Linked DNA regions of Homo sapiens: region 2 is linked to region 1. The links are contacts of gene promoters, found by promoter capture Hi-C in blood cells and fetal thymus (Javierre and others, 2016). All regions are on one chromosome and are shown on one strand. The core of a region is centred on a gene start or on the middle of the fragment in contact, and the rest is flanking DNA. Distances in the headings are between cores, read along the strand shown. Region 1 holds the start of TAF1D (TATA-box binding protein associated factor, RNA polymerase I subunit D). Region 2 holds the start of SRSF8 (serine and arginine rich splicing factor 8).

Evidence for each region. The method cuts DNA at HindIII sites, captures the fragments that hold promoters and counts their contacts. A CHiCAGO score of 5 or more calls a contact.
Region 2: a contact is called between a fragment that was not itself captured here and the fragment with the promoter of TAF1D in region 1, in 1 of 17 cell types (total CD8 T cells). The highest score is 6.4, in total CD8 T cells.

What each region holds. Positions count from the first base shown.
Region 1 is chr11:93,738,852-93,745,049 of GRCh38, reverse strand. It overlaps TAF1D (TATA-box binding protein associated factor, RNA polymerase I subunit D), which reads left to right and starts at 3,555. Exons shown (of 6, transcript NM_024116.4): 1 at 3,555-3,728; 2 at 5,719-5,813. The coding sequence starts at 5,746. C11orf54 (chromosome 11 open reading frame 54) reads right to left here and starts at 3,378. Exons shown (of 9, transcript NM_001286069.2): 1 at 3,322-3,378. RefSeq lists enhancers at 1,626-2,165, 2,686-2,805, 2,572-3,257, 3,386-3,895, 5,933-6,198. The HindIII fragment of the contact is 24,379 bases long and covers 1-5,597 here.
Region 2 is chr11:95,061,536-95,067,733 of GRCh38, reverse strand. SRSF8 (serine and arginine rich splicing factor 8) reads right to left here and starts at 815. Exons shown (of 1, transcript NM_032102.4): 1 at 1-815. The coding sequence starts at 507. RefSeq lists enhancers at 320-509, 234-991 and a silencer at 760-839. The HindIII fragment of the contact is 4,351 bases long and covers 1-3,865 here.

The DNA of each region.
Region 1 (6,198 bases), core at 2,306-4,805:
GATGTTTGGGTAAAGAGAAACATGAATCTAGCCTACTTACACATCTGGGCACAGTACCTTCCCTTGAACTTATTTATGACGCAGATTTCTTTACTCACATGTTTTCCTGCTGACCTTCTCCCCACCATCACCCTGTTCTCCCACCGCAGTTCCCTTGCCGAGATAGTGAAAAGTAATCAATAAATACTGAGGGAACTCAGATACCAGTGCCGGTGCAGGTCCTCGCATACTGAGTGTGCCCGTCCTCTGGGCCCACTGTTCTTTCTCTATACTTTGTGTCTTATTTATTTTCTCAGTCTCTCTTCCCACTTGACGAGAAATACCCACAGGTGTGGAGGGGCAGGCCCCCTTCAGTTTTGGGTTGAATAATTTATAATTGTTCAGGAATGAGACAGTTTAACTTTTTCTTTTAAATAATTTCAGATTGACAAATATTACATACAAATAATTCCTATACATTCTTCACCCAGATTTCCCAAATGTTAACATTTTATCACATTCTTTATCAAGCAAACATTGGGTACTAACTTATTTATGAACATGTCAAAATCTGCACAATGAATAGTATATTCATTTATAATGATAAAAACACTTTACATATTTTTGCTGGCAGTAGGAATAAGAACACAAGTTAAAATCCAAATGTAATCTTAATTTTATTCCCTTTATTATCTCTTTAGTAAAAAGTTAGGTCAGTTGTTTCCGTTTATTTATGTCCCTACCAAAGTAGAAACAAAGTCCAATCTTGGGAGGATGTAGCTTGAATAACTGGTTTAGAAATGTACTTATTAGGGGTACTTATTAGGGATTAGTGGATAAGTGCTTAAATGGTTGTGGATAACAGTGCATATAGGACTCTCAAGTATTTCTATAACAGACACTTGTGCGTTCTACTCTATATTTGACATTTAGACAAAAAAATCAAATGAGTTCCTTAGACTATCACTTTTTCATAATAAAATTTAAATTATGAAGGCCCGTCCAATTCTAAAATGATGTGAACTTCAGGCAGGCTGATGGCACAGCAGGCAGTGTGGTAGCATGTGTATGTGAGTGTTTATGTGTGTGTTGGAGGTGGGGAGAGGGTTACAGTTGGAGCTGAGAAAGGAGTTAGGTTCTCACATAAACTCCAGGAATACAGCCTTGGGCCAGATGGAGGCAAACAGTATTTTCCTGCCTAATTGGTGGGAGTCGATGGCCCAGAAATAGGGTCTAGAAGGGAAACGGAGCTGCAGAGGTTAACACCTGGAGGGGTAGACCAACTATCGCAACTAAACTGGTTACCATTTGAGTGCACACTATATACCAGACACCGTTAGACACTGTGCAGACGTTCTCTCAAAACTTTTCACAACCATGACAGGTTGTAAGACAGGCTGTGGGTCTTCAGGGGTCGCGGGCATCCCCTAGACACAGCCGCAGGGCCTGCATGGAGTTCGCTCCTACCGGCGACCAAAAGCGCTCGCTCCGGCTCCAGCATCTGCTCACCCCCACGCACCCTCCCATAAAGGGTGGAGCGCAGCAGGCCTGGGTGACTGGAGTTCGTGGCTTCCAGCACTCCAGTTCCCGCCTCATTCACTCGCGCCCCCCCTCCCGCGAGGAGTTGAGAGCCGTGGGCTAAGTAAGTGAGGCACCGCAGCCGCAAGACCCACGAAGGGGTCAGAGGAATATCCTGCTTCAACTGCACTCCAGCCTGGGTGGCAGAGCAAGACCCTGTCTCTATAACACAAACAGAGAAATACCAAATGTGGCCGGGCGCGGTGATTCACGCCTGTACTCCCAGCACTTTGGGAGGCCGAGGCAGACGGATCACTTGAGGTCAAGAGTTCGAGACCTGCCTGGCCAACATGGTGAAACCTGGTCTCTACTAAAAGTACAAAAATTAGCCGGTTGTGGTGGCGGGCGCGTGTAGTCCCAGCTACTTGGGAAGCTGAGGTGGGTGGATCTCTTGAGCCCGGGAGGTGGGGGTTGCAGTGAGCTGAGATCGGGCCACACTGCACTCCAGCCTGGGCGACAGAGCGAGACTCTGTTTCTAAAAAAAAAAAGAAAAAAGAAAAAATACAAAATGAAATGTGAAATTTCAATGATTCTGCATTAGGAGTTAAATGTTCCTTCCCTTTAATAGCACTTTTCCCCTTCTTTTTGAACAAGGGACGCTGCATTTTCATTTTGCATTGAGCCTCACAAATTACACAGCTAGGCTTGCTGCTGAATACGGCAGTGAGGGACATGCCATACCAGTCCTGGAGCTTCGTCATTGCCCAGACCCTGTGGATCAAATGCAGTGGGCTGCCTAAAGGATCGGACTTTTTATCCCCGGAATTGTCCAAACTATGGAGCAAAGCAGGTAAAGAGACCAGATTACTTTTAAGGCCCGTTCAATCCTAAAATGTGAACTATAAAATAAGACTAGACAGCTTTACTGATTTTTGTGGTTTATCATATGAAAACAGAATTTTGAAAGCGGAAAAATCAAACCAGTTCATTCCTTTTTAAAATTACTTTGGGAGGCCGAGGCGGGAGGATCACCTGAGGTCGGGAGTTTGAGACCAGCCTGACCAACATGGAGAAACCCCCGCCTCTACTAAAAATGCAAAAATTAGCTGGGCATGGTGGCGCACGCCTGTAATCTCAGCTACTGGGGAGACTGAGGCAGGAGAATCGCTTGAACCCGGGAAGCAGATGTTGCGGTGAGCCAAGATCGCACCGTTGCACTCCAGCCTGGGCAACAAGAGCGAAACTCGGTCTCAAAAAAAAAAAAATTACTTTGGGAGAAAAAAACCCCACCAAAACTAAACTAGTTTACACTGTTTAATCTTAACTCAGGAACCGGTCAAGGAACTAATGGTGTGGGGCAGGGGGGATGTAGGAGGAAACTTAGGAAAAACAAATCCTCCACAGGTCTCACTTGTGACATGTTAGCCAACTCCTGGGAGGCAGAAAGGGTGAGCTTACGAAACAGGTGCAAAAGTGGGGAGGAGACCTGGGCGTGCTATGGAATAACACTGGCGTCCAGCACAAAGGTTACACACTTCGAGTCATGGTCAAAGAATGAGCCTTCTCCAATATTTTAACACACAAGGGTTTCTGAAGGCAGAAATAGACAAAGGATTACAAAACACTCAGGCACACATCCCACCCGTCACCCTCGCCACACACCCGGGACCAGATTTAGAAAGCCAGGCGACAGCTCAGCAAACGCGAGACCACCGGAAACGAACCGGGCTGAGAGGCTGTTTCCTCACAGTTCTCATCCACTCACAAGTGACCGCACGTTTTGTTTTTGTTATTTGCCGAAATGTTCTTGGCTATTCCACTCACCTAAACGGTCACGGTAGCAAAACACCCAGAGTCCGGATCTTCGCCTAGGCCAACCCCGCCTCCTCAGAATACGCGAGCTAGAGCTCCGCCCACGTTAGTCAGTCCTCCCTGCGCGGCGAGAAAAATGGCGCCCCCACGTCGCGTCTCCTCCCACCGCTCGCCTTCTTCCCGGAAGCTAAGTTGTATCGCGAGATTTCGGCCTGACTATTACTTGGGCCACGGAAATAGCCAACCCTTTTCTTCCGCACGGTTGGAGGAGGTCGGCTGGTTATCGGGAGTTGGAGGGCTGAGGTCGGGAGGGTGGTGTGTACAGAGCTCTAGGACACCAGGCCAGTCGCGGGTTTTGGGCCGAGGCCTGGGTTACAAGCAGCAAGTGCGCGGTTGGGGCCACTGCGAGGCCGTTTTAGGTAGGTTGCTAAGAGGGCGAGGCCGTCCGGGCCTGGCGGGCGGGGGAGGCGTTGCATATCTGGGGTTTCCCGGGGCCCCTTCGTTGGTCCGGAGGATCGAGACTCCGAAGTCGGTCCGAGAGGGTGAAGGGATCACGGCCGCAGGCCACTCCGCGCCACGCGGCTGGTATGAGTCCCACACAAACGTGGTTGTAGTGTGGACGGGCTTCATTATATCTTGAGATGGAGGTGTTAAATCGTGTTGCGGACAAGTTTAACCTTATTACGTGATTTAAATGATTTAACCTTCGTATGTGAGGTACCCATTACTCGCGCCGGTTTTCTGCAGGTTAGGCGCTGCCGGGTGAGAGGCGCTGGTGGTCACAGCGTTAGCTCCGGGTAAAGCGCCGCTCTCTGCCCACGTGGCCTCTAAGAATTGCAGAATCCCCACGGAGGCATCGACACCCAAGTAGGAGTGTCTTCTAAACACTTCGAAAAAGTGATTATTGAGCTAGCTTTATTTTGATAATCCCTACTTTTAAAAAAAATTAACTACAGGTATACCGTTAAAGCATGGGGGCAAATTTTTGTTGAATTCCGTTTTTGAGCATTCGATATTTAATGACTTTGTAGAATCTTGTACTTAAAAAAACTAGTAAGACCTTGTACCAGGAAAATACCACAGGGGGCATTTAACAAATCTGAGCTCTTGGTGACCTTATCGTTTCATATTTTAAATATTTTGCTAGTTCATCCTAGGATTTATATGTAATGACTCATGTCAGGTCCCAAGAAGCTACAGAATGAGACAAGAGATTGACTAAGGCATGTACAATAATGAAATAAGTAGTTATCTTTAATTTTTGTTGCCATGCCTTTTTTTTTTTTTTTTTTTTTTTTTTTTTTTTTCCTGAGACAGGGTCTTGCTCTGTCGTCCAGGCTGGAGTGCAGTGGTGCAATCTCGGCTAACAGCAACCTCCACCGCGGCTTAAGCGATCCTCCCGAGTGGCTGGGAGCAAAGGCACGGGCCAACACACCTAGCCAGTATTTTAAGAATTTTTTGTAGAGACAAGGGTCTCCTTGTGTTGCTGAGGCTCACTACATACAAGCTCCACCTCCCAGGCTCAGGTATTCCACCTACCCCAGCCTCCTGACCACAGGCGCGCGCCACTATTCTGGCTAATTTCCGTATTTTTTGTAGAGACGGAGTTTCACCACGTTGCCCAGGTTGGTCTTGAGCTCCTGGGCTCAAGCGATCCGCCCGCCTCGACCTCCCAAAGTGCTGTGTTACACAGGCCTGAGCCACCCAGACCAACCTGTTTTTCTTTTTTCTTTTAGCTCACAAGAAGGAATCTTTTTCTTTTTTTTTTTTTTTTTTTTTGGTATGTTGTATACTCTCTACCATGGGGATGAAGACACAAGAATTATGATAGTTCATTGAAAAAGGTTGAGAATTCAGAACTTGTCAGTTTCCACCAATAATGGCAAAGATACAATATGACAAAGTTCAGTTGCTTAAATGAATCTAGGAATGAAGAATCTAGGAATTATAATGGAGAGGTGATTAGGAGTTTAAAATGGTTTATTGATTGGAGATCCTTTTCCTGGTTTATATAGGGCACACTTTGCTTTAGGAATTCCCCCTTTGATCTTGGAAAACGGCTTTTAATTGTACATTAATACTGTATTGGTAATTGTACGTTAAAATATGTGGCTAATGATAAAACTACATTTTTTACTTATATTGAAAGATGCTTTTGTTGGAAGGGACGGTACTTTTTTGGAATCTTGTTGCGTTGAATACATTTAGAGGGTAACAACTGAAAGAACCTGTGAATAGAATTTCTGGATTTCTTTTTAAAGAAACTGATCTGAAATGGATAAGAAGCTTAACCTTGGTAAATGATTTCGCCTGAAATCATTGGCATAGTCTGACCACGTTCAACACTGTAGTAGATACTGTCAATATTTAGGGAAGCTTTGTCATATTTACTAAATTTCATAATTTCAGAAAACTGTTTAAAACAAAGAGCAATTGATGGATAAATCAGGAATAGATTCTCTTGACCATGTGACATCTGATGCTGTGGAACTTGCAAATCGAAGGTGAGTGGATTCAATCATGTTTATTGTATCTGAATTATGAGAAACTATTGTATATAATGAGTGACAGTAAAGATAATTTTCAGGAATTGGGAAAGAAGGAAAACTAGATTTCACTGACCTTCCAAGTTTATCTAGTTACATAGATTGATATAATAGCATTGCAAATACTTTAAATTCAAAATGTGAATATATTATGGGACACATTCGTCGAGAAAAAATGTATTCTTTGGGTCATATTAGCATCTCTTCCAGACTACATCCTCCGGTTCGGTAGGCTGTGTTTGTTTTACTCAGACACTCTTAGCAGTGAACCGAACCATACAGCCTTTTGGAGCTCATACATTGTCTTGAAAGATACAGTTTTTTTGTAAGCTGAGCATAGTGG
Region 2 (6,198 bases), core at 441-2,940, 1.3 Mb before region 1:
GCGCGACCGGCTGTAAGGAGATCGGCTGTAGGGAGACCGGCTATAGCGAGAACCCCTATAGCGAGATCGGCTGCGGGACCTGGAGCAGCTGGGACCCCGGGATCGGCTGCGGTGTCGCCGCCTGGGGCTGCGGCTCCGCCGCCCGTAGCTGCGGCTCCGCCGTCCGTAGCCGCCGCCTCTGGACCTGCCGCGTGGCTCTCCCTGGCGGCTGCGGGGCAGGTCCCGGCGGCCATAGCGCGCCACCTGCACCCGCAGCTCGCGTCCGTCCAGCTCCGCCCCGTCCATGGCGGCCTCGGCGTCTTGGGCGTCGCGCCGGTCGTGAAAGCGGACGAAAGCGAAGCCCCGGGGCGCCTTGGTGTGGGGCTCCCGCGGGATGTACACGTCGCCCACGCGCCCGTACTTCTCGAACACGCGCCTCAAGCTGTCGGGAGAGGTGCGGTAGGTCAGGTTGTCCACCTTGAGGGTGATCATGCCGTCCACGTCGGGAGGGGGGCGGCCGCAGCTCATGGCTCCGAGAGCAGCCCGGGCCCGGAAACTGGCGCTGCTCTGGGCGCTGACGGTGCGACCTGCGTTTCTTTCTCGCGGTTGCGCCCCGCGTGGGGACGCCGGGAAAGGCCGGGCGGAGAGGCGGGCGGCGGAGCTCCGCAGGGAGCGCCCTGGAGCAGCAACTTCCGAGTTCCCAATTTCAGGCCAAATACTCCAGGACCCAGAGGAAGGTTTCCTTTTGGTAGCTGAACTCCAAATGAAGCCAGGCCCCGAAGATCCTGGCCTTGTACCTGGGCAACATCCTAACCTAATCAGCGCCCAGCTAATGTAATCACTGGGCTGGATTTACATTAGACGTCCCACCCTCCCATGCTCCTCCCTATTATTCTACGTTTTAAACCAATCTTAAGAACAAAGCTAACTGATTAAAGGTCAATTTATGGGAACAGGCAATCCAGACAAATATTAAACAAAAGAAACCTAGGGCAACAATATTAATATCCAGTGTATTGATAGGATCAAAGGAGCACATTTCATAGTTATTGAAAAGAAAATTCACTAGGAAAACATTACAGTGATGAACTTAACGCACCTAAACACATAACAGTGACACATAGCCAAGACTGAGAGTTATAAGGTAAAACTGAAAAATCTGCACTCATGATGGAAGTTTGTTTTTTCCCCGTAACACCGTTTTCTCAGAAATCAATAGTGCAGAGAACAAAACTAGTAATGCTATAATAATTTGCACAACAAACAACAATTTTGATCATATAACCTGCAACAACCAAAAATATATAGAAAACAGAAGAATTTCCCAATACAAGACTACAAAATAAATGTCAATTAAAATTTAATAGGTCAATAAATTCAGCACATCTGGACCTCAGTGAAATAATATTGAAGGTTAAAAATAAAAAACCTGAATCCAATCATATTTACTTGAAAATTAATAACCACATTTCTAAAACTTTTTTTATGTTGAAGTCAAGCAATTAGTAAAACAAAACCAAAACAAAAAATAAAACATTAAAATAAAAATAGAATTACAAATAAAAGGGACAATATGTTTTTTTAAAAAGATGATTAATAAAACTGAAATCTAACACTTTTAAAGAAAAAAACAATCTAGCAATACTGATGAAGAAATACAGTTTCTAAATCTGGAAAGGAAATATACAGAAAGGGCCTAGAGCATCTTGGAGTGCTGGAAAATAAGGATGTGATAAATAGAAAACAAACAAAAGCATTGATGGGGTAATTTTAGAGGGGTACAAAAACCAATAAAACAGCTCCCAATGGCCAAATCTTGAACAATTTAAGGAACAAACTAAAATACTACTATATCATATTCCAAAATATAAAATAAATATTAATCTGTGCTGTTGTAAATAAATGATTAAATAAATTAACACATTGGAGAAAAGAGAGAAAACTCCTCTGCAGGAGAATTCTAAATTAATTAAATTAATTAAAACGTTGCTGATTTTGAAAATGTTATGTAACCTTATATACATAGAATTGTGCTTTTTATATTTTAATGTATTTTGTGTTTTATTTCCCTCATCTATGTGTTCCATGTAGCTGTACTTGATCCTGTTACCTTGCCGTAAGGCATTCAATGGTATAAATGTTTGTGCTGTTGATGGGCACTTGGGTTGTTTCCACTTTTGGCCTCTTACAGTGTTGCTCAGAACATGCTTGGACATGTATACTGGAGCTCATGTGTCCTCTTAGGTATGAATGGATCCCTTGTCACAGAATACAGGCAGCCCACTGTAACCTCTGGCTTCAGCATCAGTGAATTCAGCCAACTGTGGGTAGAAATTATTCAGAAAAAAAAAACAATAAAAATAAATAGAACATAATACAGTAAACAATTATTTACATAGCATTTTCATCATAATGTAAGTAATCTAGAGATGACTTAAAGTATGTTGGAAAATACGTATAGGTTACATGCTCATACCAAGCCATTTTATATATGGACTTGAAAATCCTCAGAATCCTCAGGGGTTACTAAGGACCAAACCCCATCCACCTGCAGAATATCAAGGGACAACTGTATGTGAATTCAAACTTTACCATGCCTGATTGTTTTTCAACAGTTTTTATCAATTTACACACAGGATAGCTGTGTATGAGGGTGCTCAGTGCTCTTCACTTTTGCAAACCTTTGGTGAATATCAGACTTTTTAGTTTTAGCCAGTTAGGTGAGGGCATTAAGATTTGTTTTACCTGTGATTTCGTCCCCACACAACAGCCTGGGGTGACACAGTGAGATTTTGTCACTTAAAACTTAAAAAAAAAAAATTCATTTCCCTAACTGCAAATGAGAGTGAGTAATTTTTTCACGTTCATTGGCCATTTGGGTATTCTTACTCATAAGCTGCCTATTATGTATTTTGTCCATTTTTCTATTGGGTTGGCGTTCTCTGCACTAGCTCTTTATATATAATGGATATCAGCTCTTTGCTGGATATGAGTAATACAATATCAGTTCACACTCCTTGGTTTGTCATTTCTCTCTTTTTTTCATATCTTTTGATGAACAGAAGTCCCTCTTTATTTCTAATAGTAAAATATTATTTAAAATAGCTAACATACCTGGTGACTATAACATGGCAAACACTGTTCGGTTTACTCTTGGTACAATAAATCATTTAATTCTTATGACCTATAAGAAGATTCATACCTCTAATTTTCAGATGACAGAACTGAGTCATTGAGACATTAAGTCACTTGTTCAAGGCGGTAGAGCTAGCACTGTTAGAGTCAAATATTTAAATGACAACCCCCAAAATGATGCCTTAAAACAAAAAAAAGACTTCTCCCTTATCAAACTGTAATATTTGAGCTGATATCAACAGTACCTCTAAGCACAGATACTGAGACCAGACACAGATACATGTACAGTTGACCCTGGAACAATGAGGGGATTCAGGGTGCTGAATCCCTGTGCAGTTGAAACTCCTCAAATACTTTTGACTCCTCCCAAAACTGAACTACTAAGAGCCTGCTGTTGACTGGAAGTCTTACAGATATCAACGGTTGATTAACACAGATTTTGTATGTGACATGTACTAAATACTGGATTCTTACAGTAAAGAAAACTAGAGAAAAGAAAATGTTTTTAAGAAAATCATAAGGAGGAGAAAATGTATTTACTATACTGTACTATATTTATGGATACCTTAACCATTTACAAGATGAATAGCCTGTCTGAAATGGCTGGCAACCTCACTGCAGACCTCAATGTACCCTACACATCAAGCAATTCAACATTTTCTTATACTGTCGTGACTTTTCTCTGCTTCTTGGGAACATTTCCAGCATCACTAGTGGCACTTCGTCTGGGCCCCATAGTATTATTCAAGCTTTAGGATATTGCCCTAAACATGATACTCAAGAGATCACTTTTTACTGTGATAGACAATTTACCAGAGAGAAAAAAATTGCTCAGGCAGAGATGATTAGCATCCTGCAGCATTTTAAGAGGATACTCACCACACGAGCTCACTGCAATGGCAAAAGGAAGAGGCTACAAAATTCTTATAATAATACAGTATTACTATAGTTAATTTTATGCAGTTATGATTTAATACTATATCTTTACATTTGTTTACATTTATCTCAACTTCAAATGGCATTATGTATGGTCTGTGTGTGTGTGTAAATTCTGATAAATTTTAACTTTTTGTAACAGGATTGTACATATTTTATGGTAGCAAATGTTAAAATACACTAATATCTATACATATTTTATGCATTCATGACACACCTAATTTTTTCTTATATTTTTCAATATTTCTAGAGTACAAGATACATCTGGGAGTTTTTTCAAATTGTTCTAAATCTCCAAAAAATTTACCAATACGGTTGTGGAAAAAAAAAATCCCTGTATAAGTGGACCCATGCACTTCATTTGTTCAAGGCTCAACTGTATATGTGGGAGTCTGTATATAATAAAGGTGGCTTACCAATCCCATGAAAAGCAATCAACAATTCAATAAGAGATATTGATCTTGGGGGGAAAAATAAAATAGAGCTCTACCGTGCACTACTTAGAAGAGTAAATTAGTGATGGATTAAAGACTGTATAAAAGAGAACTTTAGGGCTATTTGAGAATATACTGAAAAATGTGTTTATGAATTCAAGGTGGGAAAATTATCTTAAAGAAGAGCCAAAAGCACAAACCACAATGAAAATTTCTGACATATTTAACTCATTCCAGTATATGATGACATAAAAAATTGAGACAAGATACAGGCTGGAAGAACAGTTTTGTCATATGTAAAATAGACAATGAATAAGTATCCTGAAAACTTCCACAGATCAATAAAAACAATGAGTCAACCCAAAAGAAGGGATCGAAGCCTTAGAAAAGGCAACTCAAAAAAAAAGGAAATCCAAATGGCCAATAAATATGAGGAGATGTATAAGATCACTAGTAATTGAGAAAATGCATTGAGACACTTTTTCTCAATTTAAATTAGAAAAAGTGAAACGATCTGACAGTGTAAAAATGGGCCAAGATATGGGGAAACCAGAACTGTCCCACTGCTAATGGAGATAGAAATTGTAGACTGACCTAGCTATTCTTAGAATAATTGAAAACAAATATCAGTATAACCAAGGAACTCCAGTTCTATGCACACAGCTGTTCAAGAAAGTGTTGTTTGACATAACAAAGATGTGGAAATAATCTACATGTCCATCAGCAGGGGAATGAATAAAATAAAAAATTACACAGGTCTATTGACTCTGTTGGAGTCACTAGGATCTATATACGTAGCAATCTGTTCAGGCCTTGTAATATTGAGTTTTTAAATAGGTAGCAGGAGGAAGAGAAGTTGTTAAAACCAAACCTGACATATCATCTTGGCTCTGTAGACTTCCGACTATAAACAGGAAGAATATGCATCAAACTCATAATTGTTATTTCTCAGAAATGAAGAGAAGCCTTCAGAAATGAAGGAACAGAGGTCATGGGAGAGGACAAAGATGGCTCTACACTTGCTCTTAGATAATTTTCATTATCAATGTTCCTTGATTTTCCAAAACAAAACAGTACAGAATAGCAAAAGCTTATGATTGGACATGGGCAAACAGCTAGATATGGGCAAATTTTACAAAGAAGAGTGACCCAAATTGAGATTGTCAGATGAAGTAACATAGAATTCTAATTACAATTGCTTGAAGAAGCCCTCCACAGCCACCCCTAACTCCCTGAACTTTCCAGAAGACTAATTTAGAAACAAGTTTAGCTGTACTATTGCTTGCTCTTATTTGGCAAGAGAATGTAAAATATTTATGAAAGTAGCTGAATAGAAACAGGAGGACAATAGGAGTAATATTTTCTACAAATTATTTGTGTGTTTATGTTTCTTTTCTTTTACTATCCAAGATTTTTTTTAATGATAGCCATTCCAGGGCATCTATCTGGCTAGGATAAGATTGTGATGCTGCTGAAGATAACAAGCAGAAATTCAGTTCTCACATTCCAAGTTGGAACGTGAGCCAAGCTACCATCTCCAGAAATTGTCAGAATCCCTTTCTTTCCTGCACTTTTATGTCCACAATCCGACTTCATCACCTAAGTTTAGCAACCTCCAATTCTCACCTGGAATATAGGAGCAAGAAAGTCTCATTTTCCACTGAAAGATGAGTGGAAGTCGTTGGTGGAAGTAGTCATCCAGATGCTAACTTGA